7 separate regions of the Homo sapiens genome follow, and regions 1, 2, 3, 4, 5 and 7 are each linked to region 6. Evidence: promoter capture Hi-C in 16 types of primary human blood cells and fetal thymus (Javierre and others, 2016). All regions are on one chromosome and are shown on one strand. The core of a region is centred on a gene start or on the middle of the fragment in contact, and the rest is flanking DNA. Distances in the headings are between cores, read along the strand shown.

The links. Contacts are between HindIII fragments. The CHiCAGO score rates a contact against its expected background, and 5 or more counts as called.
Region 1: a fragment that was not itself captured here is called in contact with the fragment with the promoter of NSUN6 in region 6 in 7 of 17 cell types (naive CD4 T cells, activated CD4 T cells, non-activated CD4 T cells and 4 more); the score reaches 9.4 in naive CD4 T cells.
Region 2: a fragment that was not itself captured here is called in contact with the fragment with the promoter of NSUN6 in region 6 in 1 of 17 cell types (endothelial precursors); the score reaches 7.5 in endothelial precursors.
Region 3: a contact is called between a fragment that was not itself captured here and the fragment with the promoter of NSUN6 in region 6, in 1 of 17 cell types (non-activated CD4 T cells). The highest score is 5.6, in non-activated CD4 T cells.
Region 4: a fragment that was not itself captured here is called in contact with the fragment with the promoter of NSUN6 in region 6 in 6 of 17 cell types (total CD8 T cells, activated CD4 T cells, M2 macrophages and 3 more); the score reaches 15.7 in total CD8 T cells.
Region 5: a contact is called between a fragment that was not itself captured here and the fragment with the promoter of NSUN6 in region 6, in 2 of 17 cell types (total CD4 T cells and M0 macrophages). The highest score is 6.7, in total CD4 T cells.
Region 7: a fragment that was not itself captured here is called in contact with the fragment with the promoter of NSUN6 in region 6 in 2 of 17 cell types (M2 macrophages and M0 macrophages); the score reaches 8.5 in M2 macrophages.

Annotation. Positions count from the first base shown.
Region 1 is chr10:16,442,309-16,445,008 of GRCh38, reverse strand. All of the region lies in intron 1 of PTER (phosphotriesterase related), which reads right to left. Among named protein-coding and RNA genes, the nearest start is that of PTER, 6.6 kb to the right of the region's middle. The HindIII fragment of the contact is 8,086 bases long and covers 1-2,700 here.
Region 2 is chr10:20,813,374-20,816,073 of GRCh38, reverse strand. It overlaps NEBL (nebulette), which reads left to right. Exons shown (of 28, transcript NM_006393.3): 22 at 357-449; 23 at 2,031-2,135. Among named protein-coding and RNA genes, the nearest start is that of NEBL, 83 kb to the left of the region's middle. The HindIII fragment of the contact is 1,290 bases long and covers 681-1,970 here.
Region 3 is chr10:16,516,130-16,518,829 of GRCh38, reverse strand. The region is part of intron 1 of C1QL3 (complement C1q like 3); the gene reads left to right. It also overlaps a transcript of PTER not described here. Among named protein-coding and RNA genes, the nearest start is that of C1QL3, 4.4 kb to the left of the region's middle. The HindIII fragment of the contact is 4,225 bases long and covers 1-2,700 here.
Region 4 is chr10:15,839,119-15,841,818 of GRCh38, reverse strand. It overlaps MINDY3 (MINDY lysine 48 deubiquitinase 3), which reads left to right. Exons shown (of 15, transcript NM_024948.4): 4 at 220-393. All of the region lies in intron 2 of LOC124902383 (a long non-coding RNA gene), which reads right to left. Among named protein-coding and RNA genes, the nearest start is that of MINDY3, 20 kb to the left of the region's middle. The HindIII fragment of the contact is 1,691 bases long and covers 518-2,208 here.
Region 5 is chr10:21,506,389-21,509,088 of GRCh38, reverse strand. No RefSeq gene overlaps it. Among named protein-coding and RNA genes, the nearest start is that of MIR1915HG, 10 kb to the right of the region's middle. The HindIII fragment of the contact is 3,213 bases long and covers 1-2,700 here.
Region 6 is chr10:18,650,152-18,652,851 of GRCh38, reverse strand. It overlaps NSUN6 (NOP2/Sun RNA methyltransferase 6), which reads left to right and starts at 1,265. Exons shown (of 11, transcript NM_182543.5): 1 at 1,265-1,723. The coding sequence starts at 1,649. RefSeq lists an enhancer at 1,026-1,125. The HindIII fragment of the contact is 3,002 bases long and covers 1-1,887 here.
Region 7 is chr10:20,773,448-20,776,147 of GRCh38, reverse strand. No RefSeq gene overlaps it. Among named protein-coding and RNA genes, the nearest start is that of NEBL, 120 kb to the left of the region's middle. The HindIII fragment of the contact is 4,812 bases long and covers 1-2,700 here.

The DNA of each region.
Region 1 (2,700 bases), core at 154-2,653, 2.2 Mb after region 6:
CAGCTTCAATAATACATTTCCACTTAAAACAGTTTTAAAGAGAAAAGTGTTTTACAGCCCATTCAAAACCCCAAGTTTTACTTATATACTCTTACATACCCATGTAACAACCCTCTAATATTTCTGACTACCAATTTACTACGTAAGATTCTTTTAAGGATTAAAAAAAACCCTATTATTCTATTCTGAGGGAACATTGTAAAAGCTCGTCAGAAGCAAAGATAGTATGCATTATAGATATGGACAGATAATGTCAAACTGAGGCCTTCTGTGCCTTCACATTCCCCAATATTTCTTTGAATATAAGAGCTTTGCTAGCTGGTTGTGGTGGCTCATGCCTGTGATCCTAGCATTTTGGGAGGCCGAGGTGGGAGGATCACTTGAGCCTTGGAGTTGGAGACGAACCTGGGCAACAGAGTGAGACCCCATCTCTAAAAAAAAATGTTTTTAAATTAACCAGGTGCATCCCTGTGCCAGGAGCCAACCTGGTCTTCCCGAGGGGTAGTGCCCCAGTGAAGACAAAAGCACGAGAATAAAGTTCCCTGTAGGTCCTCTGTCCAAAAAAAAAAAACCAGGCGTGGTATTGAGGTATTGAGCACCTGTAATCCAGCTACTCAGGAGGATCGCTTTAGCCCAGAAGCTCAAGTGAGCTATGATCACCACCACACTCCGGCCTGGGTGACAGAGCAAGACACCGTCTCAAAAAAAAGAAAAGAGGCCGGGTGCGGTGGTTCATGCCTGTAATCCCAGCACTTTGGGAGGCCGAGGCGGGTAGATCACGAGTCAAGAGATTGAGACCATCCCGGCCAACATGCTGAAAATATACTAAAAATATAAAAGTTAGCTGGGCATGGTGGCACGTGCCTATAGTTCCAGCTACTCGGGAGGCTGAGGCAGGAGAATCGCTTGAATTCGGGAGGCAGAGGTTGCAGTCAGCCGAGATCGCGCCAATGCACTCCAGCATGGCAACAGAGCGAGACTCCATCTCAAAAAAAAAAAAAAAAGAAAAAGTTTTTAGCTTCCTAGGCTCACATCTTTTCTCACAGACCTTTCTGTTTTCAGTTGATAGTATCGTGATAATTGTAAGACACAACATATTTAAGCAAGATGAGCACAAGATACCACTTTATAGAAAGAGCAGATAGGACCACAGCATACTCTAGCGATCCTCTGGCCCTTTTTGATGGTACACGTAAGTACATGGACTCATCATAGTAAGTTTCTGATTCGGAGAGGAAATTTTTGGTAAAAATATGTGCGAGTTGTTACAGCAAATATTTGGATGTTTGTCATTCAGACTGCAAGGTACGCTTGATTATGTACATTTTTTTCTTAACTGCTTGATGAACTCTATCCAAGTCATTTAATAATGTTGCTTCCCTTTTTACCTAATTACATAAATGTTTAAAGTCACGAGCATTAAGCTCTCCTCCAAGTAATGTTAGTTAAAAAGAAGTTCCTGAACTGAGGAGATTCTCCAAAGATGTGTAGTCATCACTTGGAAGGTCAAATTTAACAATCAAAGAAAATAACTCCAAAAACAGTAGCTTCCAAACAGACCATTACTATTGCAGTGGAGCATTTTGGGCTCAGTTGTATCTCCCTGCAAAATTTGTCTGTTGCAGCCCGAACCCTCAGCACCTTAGGATGTGGTTGTATTTGCAGATAGTCTTTACAGAAGTAATTAAGTTAAAAGGGGGTTGTTAGGGTAGGTCTCAATCCAATAGGACTGGTGTCCCTATAAAAGATCAATACCCAGACATGCATAAAAGGGAAGACGGCCATCCACAAGCCAAAGAGAGAGACCTCAGAAGAGGCCAACACTGCTGACACCTTGATCTGGGACTTCCAGCTGCCAGAGCTGTGAGAAAATAAATGTCTGTTGTTAAAGCCACCCAGTTTGTGGTATTTTGTGATGGCAGCCCTAGGAAGACAAACATAGTGAGTAATCAAGGTCATCTAATCTAAGCTACAGAAATGGCCCTTAATTACACCTGGGGGCTCTACATTTTATTTCATCTTATTTTTATTGTTTTTGAGACAGAGTATCACTCTGTCACCCAGGCTGGTATGCAGTGGCACAATCTTGGCTCACTGCAACCTTCGCCTCCCGGGTTCAGGCGATTCTCCTGCCTCAACCTCCTGAGTAGCTGGACTTACAGACGTATGCCTGGCTAATTTTTGTATTTTTAGTAGAGATGGGGTTTCGCCATGTTGGCCAGGCTGGTATCGAACTCTTGACCTCAAGTGGTCCGCCTGCCTTGGTCTCCCAAAGTGCTAGGATTACAGGCATGAGACACCACGCCTGGCCTGCAGGCTCTGAATTTATAAAGTGAGAAGAAAATCTGTCAAAAGAGCTGGCCAGGCACATGCAAGTCAACCTAATTCTTATTTACTTATTTAATAGAGATGGGAGTCTCACTGTTGCCCAGGCTGGTCTTGAACTCCTGAGCTCAAGCAATCCTCCCGCCTTGGCCTCCCAAAGTGCCGGGATTACAGCATGAGCCACCGTGCATGGCCAACCTAACACTTTTAAACAAATTCTGATGGCAATCAGATGACAGCTCAGGGCATGGGCTCTGACCAAATAAATCTTTATTTCAATTTCTCAATTACATGGTCGGGCTTTATCTGTCCTCCAAACTGTTAGAGAGCAAGACTGATAACATCTAACCTTTCAGATATGCAAGAATGTAGGAG
Region 2 (2,700 bases), core at 76-2,575, 2.2 Mb before region 6:
ACTGTGAGCCAGGCACTGTGGCTCAGGATTGTCATCCCAGCACTTTGGGAGGCTGAGGTGGGTGGATCACTTGAGCCCAGGAGTTTCAGGTCAGCTTGGACAACATGGCAAAACTCAATCTCTACAAAAATACAAAAATTAGCCAGGCATGGTGGCAGGTGCCTGTAATCCCAGCTACCTGGGAGGCTGAGGTGGGAGGATTGCCTGAGCCTGGGAGATCGAGGCTGTGGTGAGCAAAGATTGTACCACTGCACTTCAGCCTGGGTGACAGAGCAAGACCCTGTCTTAAATAAATAAATAAGTCTCTTTGTTGAATTGATTCATAGTATTCTATTTTTTGTTCTCTGAAATGATAGGTTTATTACAGAGGTCAGCTGGGAAGAGCTACCACTTTAAGTGTAACTCCTGAAATGGAAAGAGTGAAGAAGAATCAAGAAAATATTAGCTCGGCAAGTGGTTTTCTTCATTTTAGACTATCACAAAGGATGTGTCTTTTATTATTTACTTGCGGTCCTCCTTTGCTTGTGAAAATAAAACTTATTTTCAAGAAACATTTGTGATGTGTCCAATAAGTACATGTGTTATTTCAGATGACTTCCAAAAGCTGCCACTGCAAACATTTACATTATTTTGCAACTCTTTGTTATTTCCAGATGTGACCAACAGTTACATTCAAAGCTTAGGTTAAAATTATATTCATTTAAACAACGATTCATGATATGTTAGCCGTGTCTTTGAAGGTGGTAAAGCCTTTGATGTGTGCGTTAAATAATTGTCATTTTCCTGAAATATTTCATTGAACATGGATTGTTAAATGCTGTCTGCAAAACAAAATAGGAGATGGATCATTACCCCCACTAAAGACTTACAGAAAAGAATCCTTAAATACAGTTAACGTAGAATTCAGTTGCTCACCAAAGTCCAGTGGTGTACATGAGTATCTTATCTGAATATTGTGCTTCCTCTTAGTGAATATCAGGGCTTCAATTCTGAATTGTACATAATGCCCTCAGGTCCACAGTAAGTGGTATCCATATCTTACACCTAATCAGTTTCATAAATGGCGGTGTTCTGATGGGCAGTTGTGAAGAACACAGGCCCTTTTCTTAGCATACCCTGAATAGCTGTTTGCCTGAGAATCAGCATTTAGGCTTTGCAATTTACAGCTTCCTAGTGACATTTCTGTCCAGAGATGCTGTGTGTATTTAACATAAATTACCTTTAAGTTGTGGCTGCTTAGAAGAACAACTAAATTTGTTCCTCATTGTTTCTTATTCCCTAAGCAGAGAAAAAAATAAAAAGAAATAGAGTAGCTTGTATGCATTTTTTAACACTCTTATGGTAGAAAATTGGGAAATTTAGAAACAAAATAACTTTGGGTTCTATTTAATAGTTTTGGATTTTCTCTGTTTAACTTAAATATGATAACCAGTTGTGTGTGTGTGTGTGTGTGTGTATGTGTGTATGTGTGTGTTTGAGACACAGTCTCTGTTGCCCGGGCTGGAATGCAATAGCACAATCATAGCTCATTGCAGCTTTGAACTCCTGGGCTCAAGCAGCTGTCTTGTCTTAACCTCTCAAGTAGCTGGGACTACAGGCACACGCCCAACTAATTTTTTTTTTTTTTTAATTTTTACCTGTAGAGATGGGGGGTTTCACTGTGCTGCCCAGCCTAGTCTCAAATCCCAGGCCTCAAGTCATCCTCCCACCTTAGCTTTCCAAAGTGCTGTGATTACAGATACGAGTCCTCGGGCTTGCGCAGGTTTACAGACTAGATAGATAGTTACTATTGGTCATTCACACATTTGTTTAGAGTTGATAGATTTAGGTCATTTAGCAGTAGGCGGTGGAGGAGATCTTTGATTGTAAAATTTTAGGTTGCTATTCTAGAACAAAATTTAATTCACTGAAATAGTTACCTGGAAAATAATTTCAAGTATGTTGCATATGTTTCACTCATTTGTAAAGCTTAAAAATGTTACATCATGTGTTTTCTTATCATTGTCTTATGCCTACTATTTACTTTGCAGGTAAAATATACCCAGGACCATAAACAGATGAAAGGTAGACCAAGTCTGATTTTAGATACACCTGCTATGAGACATGTTAAAGAAGCACAAAATCATATTTCAATGGTAGGGTCCAACCAGATCATTCTTAAAACATGCTAAGGAATGGGCGGATCCAGTGCACGGATGGCATTACTTCACTATTAATCCGATAACTAACAAAGCATGGAAATGTGGTTGGCTTGTCTTTTGAGGGAGGGGCATTTCTAATCACACTGAAATGCAGTGGAAACATTTAGTCTAATAAAATGATTTTTCTCAGTGACTTTTTCTGGTGTGTCTTTATTTCTAACGTGACTACTGTAAACTCATAGTGTGAAAGATATTTGTGTAGACTTCTTTCCAATTAATTCTAAGACAAAATTTGGTCTGTTTGCCTGTCATAAAGGATATGAAAAGAAGTGTGTTTTTAAAGCTGTGTTTTTAAAAATGTGTGTTTTAAAAATTATATTATCAGATGTAATTTACCTACCATAAAGTTTGCCCATTTAAAGTGTTCAATTCAATGGTTTCTAGTATAATTTACAGTTACACAACTATCTCCTGGACCTAATTTCAGGACATAAAAAAAGTATATTTTGAAGTATAAGTTTTTGTAATTATATTAAAAGTGGTATATATTGTTACCTAT
Region 3 (2,700 bases), core at 159-2,658, 2.1 Mb after region 6:
AGACACCCCTTTATTTGCAAATTGGCTCTCTTCTGACTCAAAGGTCAGGTCTGGAAAATACAATCGGGCTGAAGAGATGATTTTTAGAGGTATCAATTAAAATGAAATGATTCCAATTTTATCAGCAAATGTGTAAAAATGCTCACATCTTTAAATATCTGGAAATTGCAATTGCATGAAAAAAGAAGGGATTAATACATTTAAATTAGTTTAAATGTTGATGTCTAGACTGCTGAGCCTGTGTATATTACACTGATTTGAAGAAAATAACACCATGTAGGTGTTCTATGTGCGTTTTGTTTTTAAAATTATTTCACTGTTTGGGGTGTAAAATCTTCCTTTGTATCACACTAGCACACACATTCCATGAGGATCAGGAAAAATAGTAAGGTAAAACAGCTGACCTTATAATGTATAAGTCTTTTCATTGGTAATATTAAGCTGCTACTTCTGCAAAAGGTATGCAACAGGTAATTCAGAAAAATAAATCTATAGTGGTAAACATTTTTTTTTAGTTCAGTGTGGACTATTTTGGAAAATGGTTACTACACTACTACAGTTAAGGAATTTTATCTCTAGATTAGAACTATTTTGTCAAGTCCAGTCTGCAGGCAGTTACAAATGAGAAATCTTTTAAAATCTTTTTATTAATTTTAAATAATACTTCACTCTTGCTTTTCAATTATATTCTGGTCTGATCACTTCTTAGAATGGCAGGTTCCCTCTCTGAGCTGACTTAATTTTTCATAAAACAGAAACTCAGAGATCCATGTCAGTGTAATGTTCTATGGATTAAGTGGATTTTGAGAAGCACAAAAATTAAACTAAAAATGCAGTTCCCTCTAAGAGAGAGAAATGCTTCTGGACTGTAACCATATGAGAGCCATTTTATTTATACTTTGTGTAGAATGTAAGATCACAGATGGAAACATCAAAGACCAGTAAATTAACCTGATGTGCCACTTAACCTTTTGTTTATGATTCCACAGAAGTACAATGAAAATGAAATTACGAGAACATCAGTAGCAATTAATTAAATTACAAATGTCACCATAAATATGATCTCTAATGATAGATCCTCACTAATAAGATAATGCTAAAACTATGAAACCTATTGCAGACACAGAAACATATCCCTAAAATGACCGCAGCTCTCATACTCCCCATGAAGCCATCAACCTAAATTTAATCCTACCATTTGTTGAAAGCCCATGACAGTGCATATTAAAGGTAAAAGTTCAACTCAAATAGCTTTACATTTGGAAAGAGGAAATCTCTTTAATGTTGATAATCCTTTTAGCAGAAAACATGAAGAAAAATTGCTATTTGAATACAATCACTCTAATGCCACTATAATAAATAAGCCACTCGAATGAAAACTAATACTGTTTCAGGATTAAAAGCATAAAATAATTAAAGACCAGTTGGTACTCTTAAAAATTTATTAGTTATGGCACCGATGCCCATGAAATATTTTTAAAAGGATGAGTGGTTTGTGGGTTGGTATTCGCTTATTAGAGAGATCAATGACATGTCAAATTCATAATCTTTTTAGGGTTAAAGAAATACGGACTAAACATAAAGCAGAATCTAAATAGTTATCTTGTAATAAGAAAAGATATTAGAGTAAATTCAGGTAGAAATCGGTTGATTGCGCTGAAGGAAGGATGGATCTTATTCCCAGACAGAATGCTGAAATCACTGTACATTTAGGAATCTGGAAACAGCCTCCAGGGTGAACACATTGCCTTCCTCAATAGTTTGATGGCTTGAAAGAATTGTTGAAGTCACTGAGCTGAATACTAGAGCTTGAAATTTCAAGTCCTGTTATATCTTTAGAGTAGGATCAGGTGAGCAGCCATACCAAAATCATGCCAGGTACACTGGAGTATGGCAATTATTTAATTGGGACAGTCTTACGGTACAGTATAGGTTAAAATCTTACAGAATTACATTCATTAAAAAGCAACCACACTGGCTTGATCCAACAAAGGTGGTAGAAACTGTGAGGGTAACCTTTCAGTCTGTGGAATCACTCTAATGCATTCGCAGGAATTTGTGGTTACGCCTACTGAATAAAAATGGTGACGTTCACTCGGTTTTGTGGTTACACCCTGGAGAATAAAAATGGCATTATATTTTTAAAAGGATTATTGTGTCTAAATCAAGTAATTTTAGTATGTCCTGTTTCTCCAATACCTTCATGTAGAAAACCATGTTAAAGCCCAGTAACCATAGAACATGTCCTAAATACCCAAAGCACTGAATAAAATATGTCTGGTTATTAGTAATAGCTGAGGAGTATATTATGGGTTGATAACTAATGTATTACTAATATAGCTCATGAATATTTTGTTTTTAATTTTTTTCACCATTAAAAATCCAAAGATGAGAAAAAAACACAAGTCATAATAGCAATATCCTTCTTGTAGATTTGTTTCCCTGGGAATTAATGGCTAGATGAAATTAATGAATCAAAGCATTCAACTCCTACAAACTCATGATTAATCTTTAGAAAATATTATGAAGTCAAACTGCGTCATTATTTAATGGTCAAAACGGACCACTTTACTAAATTGGCATATATATTGGAGTCAGTGCTTCCAAGCATAATTACATGGTATATTGCTTTCATTATATTAGTGCCTGTTAGTACAGCGTTAAGCAATTCTAAATCCTTTAAGCCATTTTCTCCTTTTG
Region 4 (2,700 bases), core at 114-2,613, 2.8 Mb after region 6:
TGGTGGTGTTATTTGGATGGCTTTATTTAAAGTGGTGATATTTTAATCCACAAACACATTGTTTTTCTAAGACATAATTTAAAATCTATTTAGAGATTTTTCCCCCATTTTTAAAATGCTTGATTTTCATCATTAACCCATTCTTACTATTGTTATTCATGACAGAATTTTTTTTTTTCCAGAGGAAACCATTATAACTTATGCTTTGGTTATTTTTAGAGGAAGAGCAGAAGGAACTCCTTTGTCATACCTTGTGTGATATTTTAGAAAGTGCTTGTTGTGACCACTCTGGATCATACTGCTTGGTTTCATGGTTAAGAGGAAAGACAACTGAGGAAACTGCTAGTATTTCTGGGAGTCCTGCAGAGTCTAGTTGCCAAGTGGAACATTCTTGTAAGATATATTTTTATTTCCTGAAGTTTTTTTCTTGTTCCTTTGTTTTAATGAATCTATTGAATATTTTGAAGAAAAAATTACTTAAAATTTTCATAACATGTATTCTTTTCCAGCTTAAGCTTAATTACTGAGCCTCACTATTTTTTATTTCCATATCATTTATTTTAACTACTTAGAAGATACTACATTTTTGCAAAAAAAAATGCATCTCTTAAACTTTTAAAAATGTTCTGGTTAACTTCTGCTTGATAATAATCTCTTTTGAGCTTTAGAACTCTTATTTAGAAATAATGATATGCTTCAGTTTCAGATGCCTTAATGTTTTGCTTTGGTATTGCAAAAACGGATTTTTTTGGACATCAGAAGATTTCATAAAGTTATCTTTACTTGCTTCCCAGAGCAAAGATGGGGACATTTCTCCTCATTGCAAGCTGTTTCTTTTCTTTCCGAATTATTTGGATATTTTTATACATATAGATTATTTTAAGGCAATTTTAATTATGCCTTAAGTTTTTCATACCTTGAAGATAAGTTAAATAATAGCTGTTTACGTTAAATAATAGCTATTCTCATTATTCATAAAAATTATATATTCTGTGGTTTTTAACTTTTGAAAATTGTTATGTAATTGACCCGAAAGCTGCCAGTGTGAAATGGAGACAGCTAGTGGTACGGAAGCTAGTTAAGAGTTGCTTTTCTGATTTGCTTTTCAGGAATAATCTTGCTAGTTGATGGTTTTTTATAATTGGTAGTCCCAAGTGCTTATGTTAAATAAGTGACTTATTCTACCCACAGAGCATCACATTAACTATCATCTTTGTGGAAAGTTTTCGTAAAGAGATTACGTACCTGAAAGTACACTTCAATTGTATGGGATACACATTTTGCTTTCCATATAGTATTATCTATAAGGTGCTGTTGCCTCCCTGGACTAAAATGCCTCTGTGTTGTCAGTGTCTTTTTTCTCCTACCTCTGCAGTTAAAATGCCTTAAGCCTGGCAAATTCTAATAGTAGTAACATTTGCAAGGAATAATTTTGAACATTTGAACAGCTATATGATGCTTCCTTTTGAAGCCTTTGAAATATGGCCTTTCAAAAAGAACTTAACATATTTTAGAGTTTATAATGACATTTGAAGACAACAAGTGGAAAACAGTCACAAGGATGCTAGTCCAAAGTGTCACTAAGATTGGTTTTAACATATTCTCCAGGTTTTACTGTGTGGGTGTTAGCACACTTAATAGGTTCATTTAGGATATTAAAATTTTGAAAGAGGAATTGTTGATCTTTTGAAAAGGTATTTTAAAGATTTTGTGCTTAAAGCCAGTCTGTATATTGATGTGAGAAAATAGTAAGATCTTTTTATATAACATTTTCCATTAGTATCTTAACAGTATACTGAGTGCATACTATGAAATATGCTATGCAGTTCTGTGGTGATACGTCACGTTGCTATAGGTTAAAGGGCCTTATAATGCATTCCCTTTGGTACTTCAGTAACTAATTTAGATGGGCATATTATATTGAATTACCCTCCAGAAAACATTTTAGTAATTTTTCCAGTTTACTTTGTATCTCATTTTAAAAGTTGCCATGAAGTAAACCATATTTTAAATTTTTTAAATAATGTATACATTTGAAATACTTTGTTAACTGAAAATTTGAGAATTTACCTTAGTGACAAATGAACTGTATTTATATTACAATTTTTATTCCGTGTAACAATCTATTTTACCTGTTCTTTCCTTTATTCCCAGCTTTGTTCTTTTTCTTGTGTTTTATATTTTTTCACCATCCCTGCCTGCTAAGCTTTTTATTTTGCTTGCCTCTTTTCTCTAAATTATTATCTTTATGTCTACTCTTGTAGTATACCCAGTAAAACTATTTAGATAATCTAATGTTGCAGAACAAGCAGTATAATTTGGAAAAGATTAGGTAGAATTTTCATTTTCTGAAAGTTTTAATGTAAAGTGTTTTCCCCTCTTGTTAATATTACTTTCTCTACAAACATTAATTTCATTGGCTTATGTGGTGTGTATAGTTTTGGCTTGTTGGTAATGCACAGTTGTTCGCAGTAGTGAATACTCAGGTTCAATTTCAGTTTGTTTCCCACATAAACCAAGAAATAACTTAATACATTTGGACTGCTAAAGATTTTAAAACGAAATATGAAACACTCACAACTAGGCTTTGGAAAGCTAGCATAATGTGACATTTTAAATTGTAAATAAAAATCTAAAATTTTGACTTCATAATGAATCAATTTTCTTAACTCACCAGTGAGAATTTATATTTGATAGTAG
Region 5 (2,700 bases), core at 65-2,564, 2.9 Mb before region 6:
TCGGCCTGAGAAGAAAGTGGCCAGGCTTTCCAGGTTTTAATTAATGGGAAGGCGTGTTTGGAACTCGCAGGCCTCCAAAAGCAGCTGGCTGAGTGCGGCAGGGGGAACCGGGCGGGCCTGGGGGACCCCGCCCGAGAGGGCTGCGGAGAGGCGGAGGGGTCCCGGGCTCCCCTCTTCGGTCACAGGCTGCTGGGGGTCGCGCCTAGGCCCGCGGGTCCCGGGCGCCGGCTTGAGCCGCTCTGCGGTGGGATTGGATCTTGGGCTTTGTCTCCAGTTCTCCAGACGCTTGGAACGCGGGATCTGGCCGGTTCGGCCAGGCCTGCGGAACCTGAAAAAGCCTACCGGGCCTGGAGACCGCAGGGTCTGCGGGGCAGAGCAGGCTCCGGGGACAGCTCCAGGCCCCAGCTCAGGCCTCTTGTCTTTTGTTTAAAGGGATCTCCATCTCTCTCTTCTTTCTCTAACCCCCTGTTTCTTTTCCCCCTCTCGCCCTCTCTTTTTCTCCCTCTCTCTCCCTCTTACACACACACACACACACACACACACACACACACACACACACACACACAGTCTCCATTAGAAACTAAAATGGAATCGGAAGACGGGAGAAATAAGAGGAAGGGGTTTTGGTTTTGTGTGTTGAACAAGGAAAAAGAATGTCTTCTTTAAGATAAAATATTCCTATCTCCTTTTCCCATCTCCTCCAGTTCCCTTTCCTCCCAGTTGGGACCTGAGAAGGGTATGGGCAAAACCAGGCAGGCGCTGGATTCCTCGGATTAACTTTGAGGAGAGAACCCGTTGGGGTCCTGCAGGCCGGGAGAGGACAAGCGGAGAGCGCCTCCCCAGCATCTGCCCTGCGGCCTTTCCCGGCACTTAGGACCCAGTGGGTCGGGGGAAAAGCAGCAGCCGCCTCTCCGCAGCCCCTGAGCTCTGGCAGTGCAGTTAGAAGGAAGACAATTCCTTACTGAGCCTACAAGCGTAGAAGAAAACCTGGGTTAGGTGGGCTGCATGTGAGGGTTTAGACATTAGCTAATGCAAATCACAAGGAAATGTTAATTCCAGTAGGAAAAGCCTATATTCAGCTATCTTCCTTCCCTTCTAAGATGGCCCTCTGCTTGCTTGCGCGCTAGCTCTCACCAAATTAGCTATTACGTGAAATCCCCCTGGGTTTAAGGCACTTGTTTCACGGATTCGCGTACAACCCATATTAACTATGCACTTTCTGCTATTCCTCTTGTGATTGTCCCTGCCTCTTCCTTCTTTGCAGAGAGTATGATGCATTTTATTTTAGTCCAATCGATGCATGCAAATACTGGGATAACACAACCCACACTTCTGCAATGGAGGCTGTTTTCAAAATTGAGTTTAGGGATCAATACTAAGTCGAAATGCTCCAAATTGCACGAATTCACCAAATTCAAGCCCTGGGCTTCCAAGCCCCTATCCTGACTGATTAACGCACTCTCAGATAGCTGTGCTTCCACCGTCCCTGCCTCTCATAACAGGATGTTTTCGTCTAGTGTATTTGGCTTTCCCTAAAGATCACTCGGGTTTGCTTGGAAAAACACGACCCCAAAACGTGTAGTGTGAAACTCTTGTCGATGGCTTCCGTACAGGTCTCCTCTCACATTCGCCTTGCGGACTGCCATCTCCCTTTATTTTCCTGGGACCGAACAGCAGCACCTAGCAGTGCCATGCTGGGTGCTCCGAAAACGTTTGCTCAGCTGAATAAATGCTTTATTGGTCAGGGAACAGCCCTATCCTGTGCCACTGCTTAGCTCCCACGATGTCTTCTTCGCCCAGAGCTGAGCGGCTTGGATTGCAGCACAGCGAGCTCTCTATTCTTTTCCGGCTGCGGCCATGGCTGCGGGGCGACTGGTGCCTAACCGGGTGTGTGTGGGGGGCGGGGGCGGGGCAGGAAAGGGCAGTGGTTGTCCCCTTGTTGCAAGAAATGTTTAAGGCCAGAGAGGTGTGTATGTGGGGGGTGGGAGGGATTCCAAAAGAGAATCAGAAGAGATTGCTGCCCACAGATGTGTATGTATATAGTCTAAAAAGAATATATGGGAAACAACCCAAGTACCTAGGATGCCAGAGTGTCCCTGATTCCTTAATTCCTGCTGTCTGGATCTTCCTTCAGGGTAGATAACTGAAACAAGAAAGAAAAAGGTGGAGAGATAGTAGCAGGCAGTCTAGAGGCCTTCCAGTAAGATGCAGTTATTCATCTAATCACTACCATCAACACGTTTGTGTTGGACCCTTTTTGCATGGAAAACGCTCAGCAGTCAGTTGACTTAGACCCTAAAATATCACCAGGCTAGCAGAGGGCAGCTCTGCAAAGGCCTTCTCCAGCCCCAGTGCACGGAAGGAAGGGAGGGAAAAGAAAAAAAAGAGAAACCATCTGAGTGGCAGCTTACTCTCCTTTTCCTCAAGCCACCAAAACAAACAAACAAACAAATAAACTCAGAATTCTGGAGGCTGGGAGAAGCACATGTAGGGCACAAGAGGTTAAAATGGAATTTCTGTTGTTAGTGCTTGCCCTCTTTAAGATCAGTTTAAGTTGGCTCCAGGAAAAACGCAATACTTGTGGTAAGTGATGAGCAGTAGAAAGGAAACACCGTGTGGAAGAGAGGCTGCTCTGAGTGGAGGCAGCTGACCTCCTCCCCCTTTTCTGTGAAAGTTAGATATATGAGAGATCTGAAGGCT
Region 6 (2,700 bases), core at 16-2,515:
CGTGGTGGCTCACGCCTGTAATCCCAGCACTTTGGGAGGCTAGAGAGTCAGATCAGTTGAAGTCAGGAGTTTGAGACCAGCCTGGCCAGCATGGTGAAACCCCGTCTCTATTAAAATTACAAAGATTAGCTGGGCCTGGTGGCACATGCCTGTAATTTTAGCTACTCGGGAGGCCAAGGCAGGAGAATCTCTTGAACCAGGAGGTGGAGGTTGCAGTGAGTCGAGATCCCACCATTCCACTCCAGTCTGGGCGACAGAGACTCAAAAAAAAAAAAAAAAAAAGAGCAGAGAAAATGATAAACAACTTGCAGGTTGTTGTGTGGTATAATGGTCATTCATTATTTTCTACTCTTTCTGGTAAAGAGTTGGTGTGTCATGGAAAGTACCTGTTCTATGTGTGTGTGTCTGTGTGTATAATTCGGTGTGAAAATTAAAGAGAAAAAAACAATAAAAAACCCTTTCCTATACTTATGTGTAAATTACCATGGTGTGCTGCAAAAAACATATGTCAAGGTGATAGAATTATTTTGACTTTCCTGTACAGTTATAAAATGACTCAGTGAGTTTGGTTAGATATCCTCGTTCTTTGAATCTATATCCTTGTCTGCTTATGATGAAAAAAAAGAAAAAAAAATAATGGCGAGGGTCTTCCAAACTCTAAAGAATATGTCAACTATGATACAAGTAGCAGTTAGCCTTATAACTAACTGTAAACACTGTCTGTGGGTTTTAAGTTTTACCTGAGCATTGGATATTAACAGACCATTAGCCCAACTTTCAAAAATATGAACCCTATGAACTTCACAACTGAAGTCAGATCTGTATGCCTGAGAGAGGTAAAATCATGTCATGAAATCAAACGGTGGCTGATGCGCCCAAATTCTGGCCTCATCCTCTAACTGGAGGACATCTGGCAGGACAGCAACTGGGCTGTGCCTTTTTTCAGTCCAGCAACATCTTCCACTCAACCCACGCCATTTGGCTGTTTCCCCATTGCCCCTGGCACCTAGCCCTCCGGTACCGGGAACTAAATATCTTTGACCATCCCGCCCGCGGGGTCTGCCTACTTAACCTGAGGCAGGTGAAAGAGCCTCACGCAGGGTTAGGAACCTCCGGGGGCGTGGCGTAGCGTAACGCAGTGTTGGGGAAACTTGCGGCTGTGGATTGGGGGACCGGAAAGGGAGGGGTGGGCCGCAGGCGCCGGACGTGACGTAAGCCGGAAGCGACTTTCCGCCGAGAAATAGGGGGCGCGTGTTTGGAAATTGATAGAAAAGATAAAGGGACCGAGCTGCTGTCAGCCTGGCTTACTGATCTGCGTCCGTTTCACCACGGATTCAGTTACTAAGCATTTTTTTCTTTTTTTGGTTCTTTGCAACGTGAGTGGCATTGGCTCAGTGATTTCCATGAGCATCTCTACCAGAAAACATTGCCTCGATGAGGTGTGGTGGAAGCCCGGCAGCCCCTTCTAATCGGCTAGGCTTGAGAAAGCGTGTACCTCTGCATTTCCGAAATTAACTCAGCGTGATCGGCAAGATTTTCCTCAGCATCTGGTGTCAAGACACTCGTCACTATTAATTCGGAAAGAAAAAAAAAAACAAAACACCGTTTTCCAGCATTTCTCTTGGTGGAGAACTAAACAACAGGAAAAATGTCTATTTTCCCTAAGATATCTTTGAGACCTGAGGTTGAAAACTATCTTAAGGAAGGCTTTATGAATAAGGAGGTAGGTCAAGTAAAGATGTTAGTTGATATTTTGCAAAAACTCAAATATTCGCACACTCGAGAGAAATAGAAATAAGTATAAAGGGAAATCTTGACAGCCGTCGTTCCTTACTACTTGTCTATCAAGTGTAAAAATACCAATATGTTTCTACAGGTATTAAAGCTTACTGAGATACGAAGTGAATAAGGTATATGTTTTAACATTTAGGAGTGGAAAAGAAGGGAAAAAAGGCATGTGCCTGTCAGGCATGGCACAAAGGGTTACAAGGATGAACAAGAAAAGGTCCCTGTCTTCAAGAACTCGAATCGAATTTTAAAAGAGCGCTGGCTCTGGCACTCAGGTGAAAAGGTTTCTGTAATTTGTTGAGTGCCTCTTAAATGCCAGCAGTTGTGCTAGGAGATTTGCATCTTTAATCTTCACAATCTTTTTTTTCTTAGAGGTTTTTCCTCTTTTAATAGACTTGAGCAGAAAACTGCTCAAGGAATTGTGTAACTGATCCAAGTTGACACAGCTATCAAGTAACTATTGAAATCTGGAGGGAAAGAGTTCAGGTGTAATGAACAAAGGTACAGCTTTTGAATCTCAGGCACATGATTTGCATTCTAGTGCTTTGTAAATTACGTGGCTTAACCTAGATTTTTCTCTTCTGTGAAAAATTGAGAATGGTTAAAAATATCTTGCCAGGTTGTTTTAGGATATTAAACGTAAGTGAATACAACTAGCATTGTTTTGGCATGTAAGTCCTCAAAAAATGTTAATTTTATTTGCTAAAGTCCTCAGTAAATGTTGATTATCTTTGATTGCAAAGCCTGTTGTCTATTCCATTTTACCATGCTGCCTCTAAGCAACTTTGTTTTTTTTCAAATCTTTAATTTTTTAGTCAAGTTAAAAATATTTTACCAGGTTGTTTTAGGATATTAAACGTAAATGAAAACAACTTGCATTGTTTTGGCATGTAAGTCTTCAAAAAATGTTAA
Region 7 (2,700 bases), core at 194-2,693, 2.1 Mb before region 6:
ATATTTACAAACGTTTCCTGGTTGCATGTACTTCTTTCTTTCGAAAGAAATGTTTTGGCTTCCAACAGTGCTACATAAAATGATTTCTGGACCTCTACATCTTTTTGGTATGTTGATTTTTGTAAAAATTTTTAAAAAGTTAGCTCTTATGATCTAACTATAGTGTCACATCTATATTGTAACTCAGGATTTATTCACAAGTCATATTTCCACTGTTTATGTTCACCTCAGTGGGACTGGGAGGAAAGGAGCCTGAAAATCTTGCAGGATAAACTTGTTTTGTGCATTTCACCTGCCAAGCCTCCTTCCAGGAGTGTCTGGGCCACAGCTCCAGCACTTCAATGTGGCTTTTACCTGTAACCAACCTCTAGCTGGAAAAACAAGAAGCAGGCCCAGGGGGGATTTTTCCATCTTCTGTGATTTACATCCTAGAAAGACGTGGAGGTTGGGTAGGAGGTTGGGTCCCTGGGATGATTTATTTTCAAAACCGGCAAACAAAACATATTTATGGTATAAGAACTATAATTATATTGTGCAGCCTCTTAGGATCATTCAAAGGTTTCATGTTTGGAAAACACTAAAACATTTTCAGAGCTTTGAACAGGGCTTCTGGTCTTGATATAAGTTACTTGATTGTCACTGAGACACTTCAATAGTAGTTTCATAATATACATAACCTTTAAGAATTTGACAGTCAATTTAATGATATTCATGCACAGATCAAAGAGCTGGATTATGATCCACTGGGGAGGATGGGGCTTAGCAGTAAGTGAGAAGCCTTAATGCCGAAGGTGACCCTGACAGGTAAGTGATTATCTGTGGGACGGGATCATCTTTGGCAGAGAAGAGAAGGAAGAAAACATTTGAAGCCAAGGCAGACCTGAAACTCCGAATATCTCACTTCGGTGAAAAAGTCAAAGTTTTAGTTTCAAGCAGAAATGTATCTTTCAAAATTATTTTAGGATCAGGAAGTTATTATTCCTTACTTATTAATAATAATTATCTCAGAATCAGGAAGTAGAATCTCCGCAGGTCGTCCTTATTTATTTTCTCATGCCTTTGCAGTTTAGTGATGTCTCCAAAATAATGCTGCACTCTGTTTTGTAGCTTAGCCTTTCTTGATTTAGAAAGCACTGGGAAAATGCTGAAAATTGACTTCATGCGTTATGGAATGTATCAAGGGATACATTCCTTGATTTTGGGATTCTATGATTCCTCAGCCATTTGTCGATTTTTTTTTTTTTTATGTTTGAGAAACTTACGGAAGTCAGAGGGAAACTGAGCAGACCCTCTGTTTTCTGCTGAATACTACTGAGGCAGATGAGTTTCAGCCGGCAGTATCTCTCCACTTCCAGGCACATTACTCAGACTCACGGGTTTTCAGGCAGTCGGGGAGCTTTAGTCCACCCCCACCTTCAGGAGGACATCGCATAAGTGTGCCATTTTACAGATTGGAAGACGAGGACCTGAGCCAACTGGGAACTTAGTCAAATGGCAGTTGATTTGAAGGGCAGATAAAACCCCAGCTCCCCTCTCTGTCTTTTGCCGTTGTGTCCCTTCCGTCCCCCACTCTGCTTCCCATGCTATACTCCAAATCTACCTAATACACGGAGGACAGGAATGAGCGCCTGTCTGAAGCTGCCCTTCTTTTTCCTTTAATGTCCCAGTAGGGTCATCAGCCCAGCTATATGCCCTGAGGAGCGTGATCCCAAGCAGTGGCCTGACTTTGATCACCCAAACCACAGCAAGGATGCTTTGGAGTAGCAGAAGTCTTCATGGAGTCTAGACTCTCCTATCTCAGGCCAGGAAGTCAGTGTCTCATTTTCTTTAAGACTCTGCACCTGCAAATTAAGATAAAAGAAGAACAAGGTCTTCACGGGATGGATAGGAAGTCAGAATATCTTCTCCTGTTCCAAGTCCAGTACTTCCTTTTCCCAAGTAGAGTATAGTATGGCGCTCTAGGCTGCCATCTGGTCCTCTTGTAGACTGGGCAGTTAGATTGCCTTGGGACTTCTCATCTGTTTTTTTAATGGCATTTTAACTTGGATTTCTTAAACATCTAATACATATTTCTTCCACATGTGATGCTACACATGATGCCAGCAGGGCTCAGACTAGGGCCTGTAAGGCAGATTTGTGGCATGTTGCAATAGATCGTCCCTTTCTCAAGTGTGTGTGCTTCATTTTTGTCCTTCCTTTTCTTTCCTTCCCATGCCATTTTTTTTTTTTTTTTTTTTTTTTTGAGACAGGGTCTCACTCTGTCACCCAGGCTGGAGTTCAGTGGTGTGCCCATGGTTCACTGCAGCCTCAAACTCCTGGGCTCAAGTGATCTTCCCATCTCAGCTCGCTGAGTAGTGGGGACTACAGGTGTGTGCCACCATGCCTGCCTGATATTTTAAAAAAAAATTTTGTAGAGGTAGGGTCTCACTATGTTGCCCAGGCTGGTCTAGACCTCCTGGACTCAAGCAATCCACCCACCTCGACCTCCCAAAGTGCTGGGATTACAGGTGTGAGACACGTGCCTGGCTTATTTTTCCATTTTTAAAATGATGTGTTGCTTTTCTACTTAAAGTAACCCCGCCTTACTGGAGAACATTCAGAAGAGTACAGAGAAGAAAAAAAAATACGTGGGGAGATTCATGATCAGGAATTGTGGGTGTTGATGAATATTTTTCCAGAGTATTTTTACACACATGCATA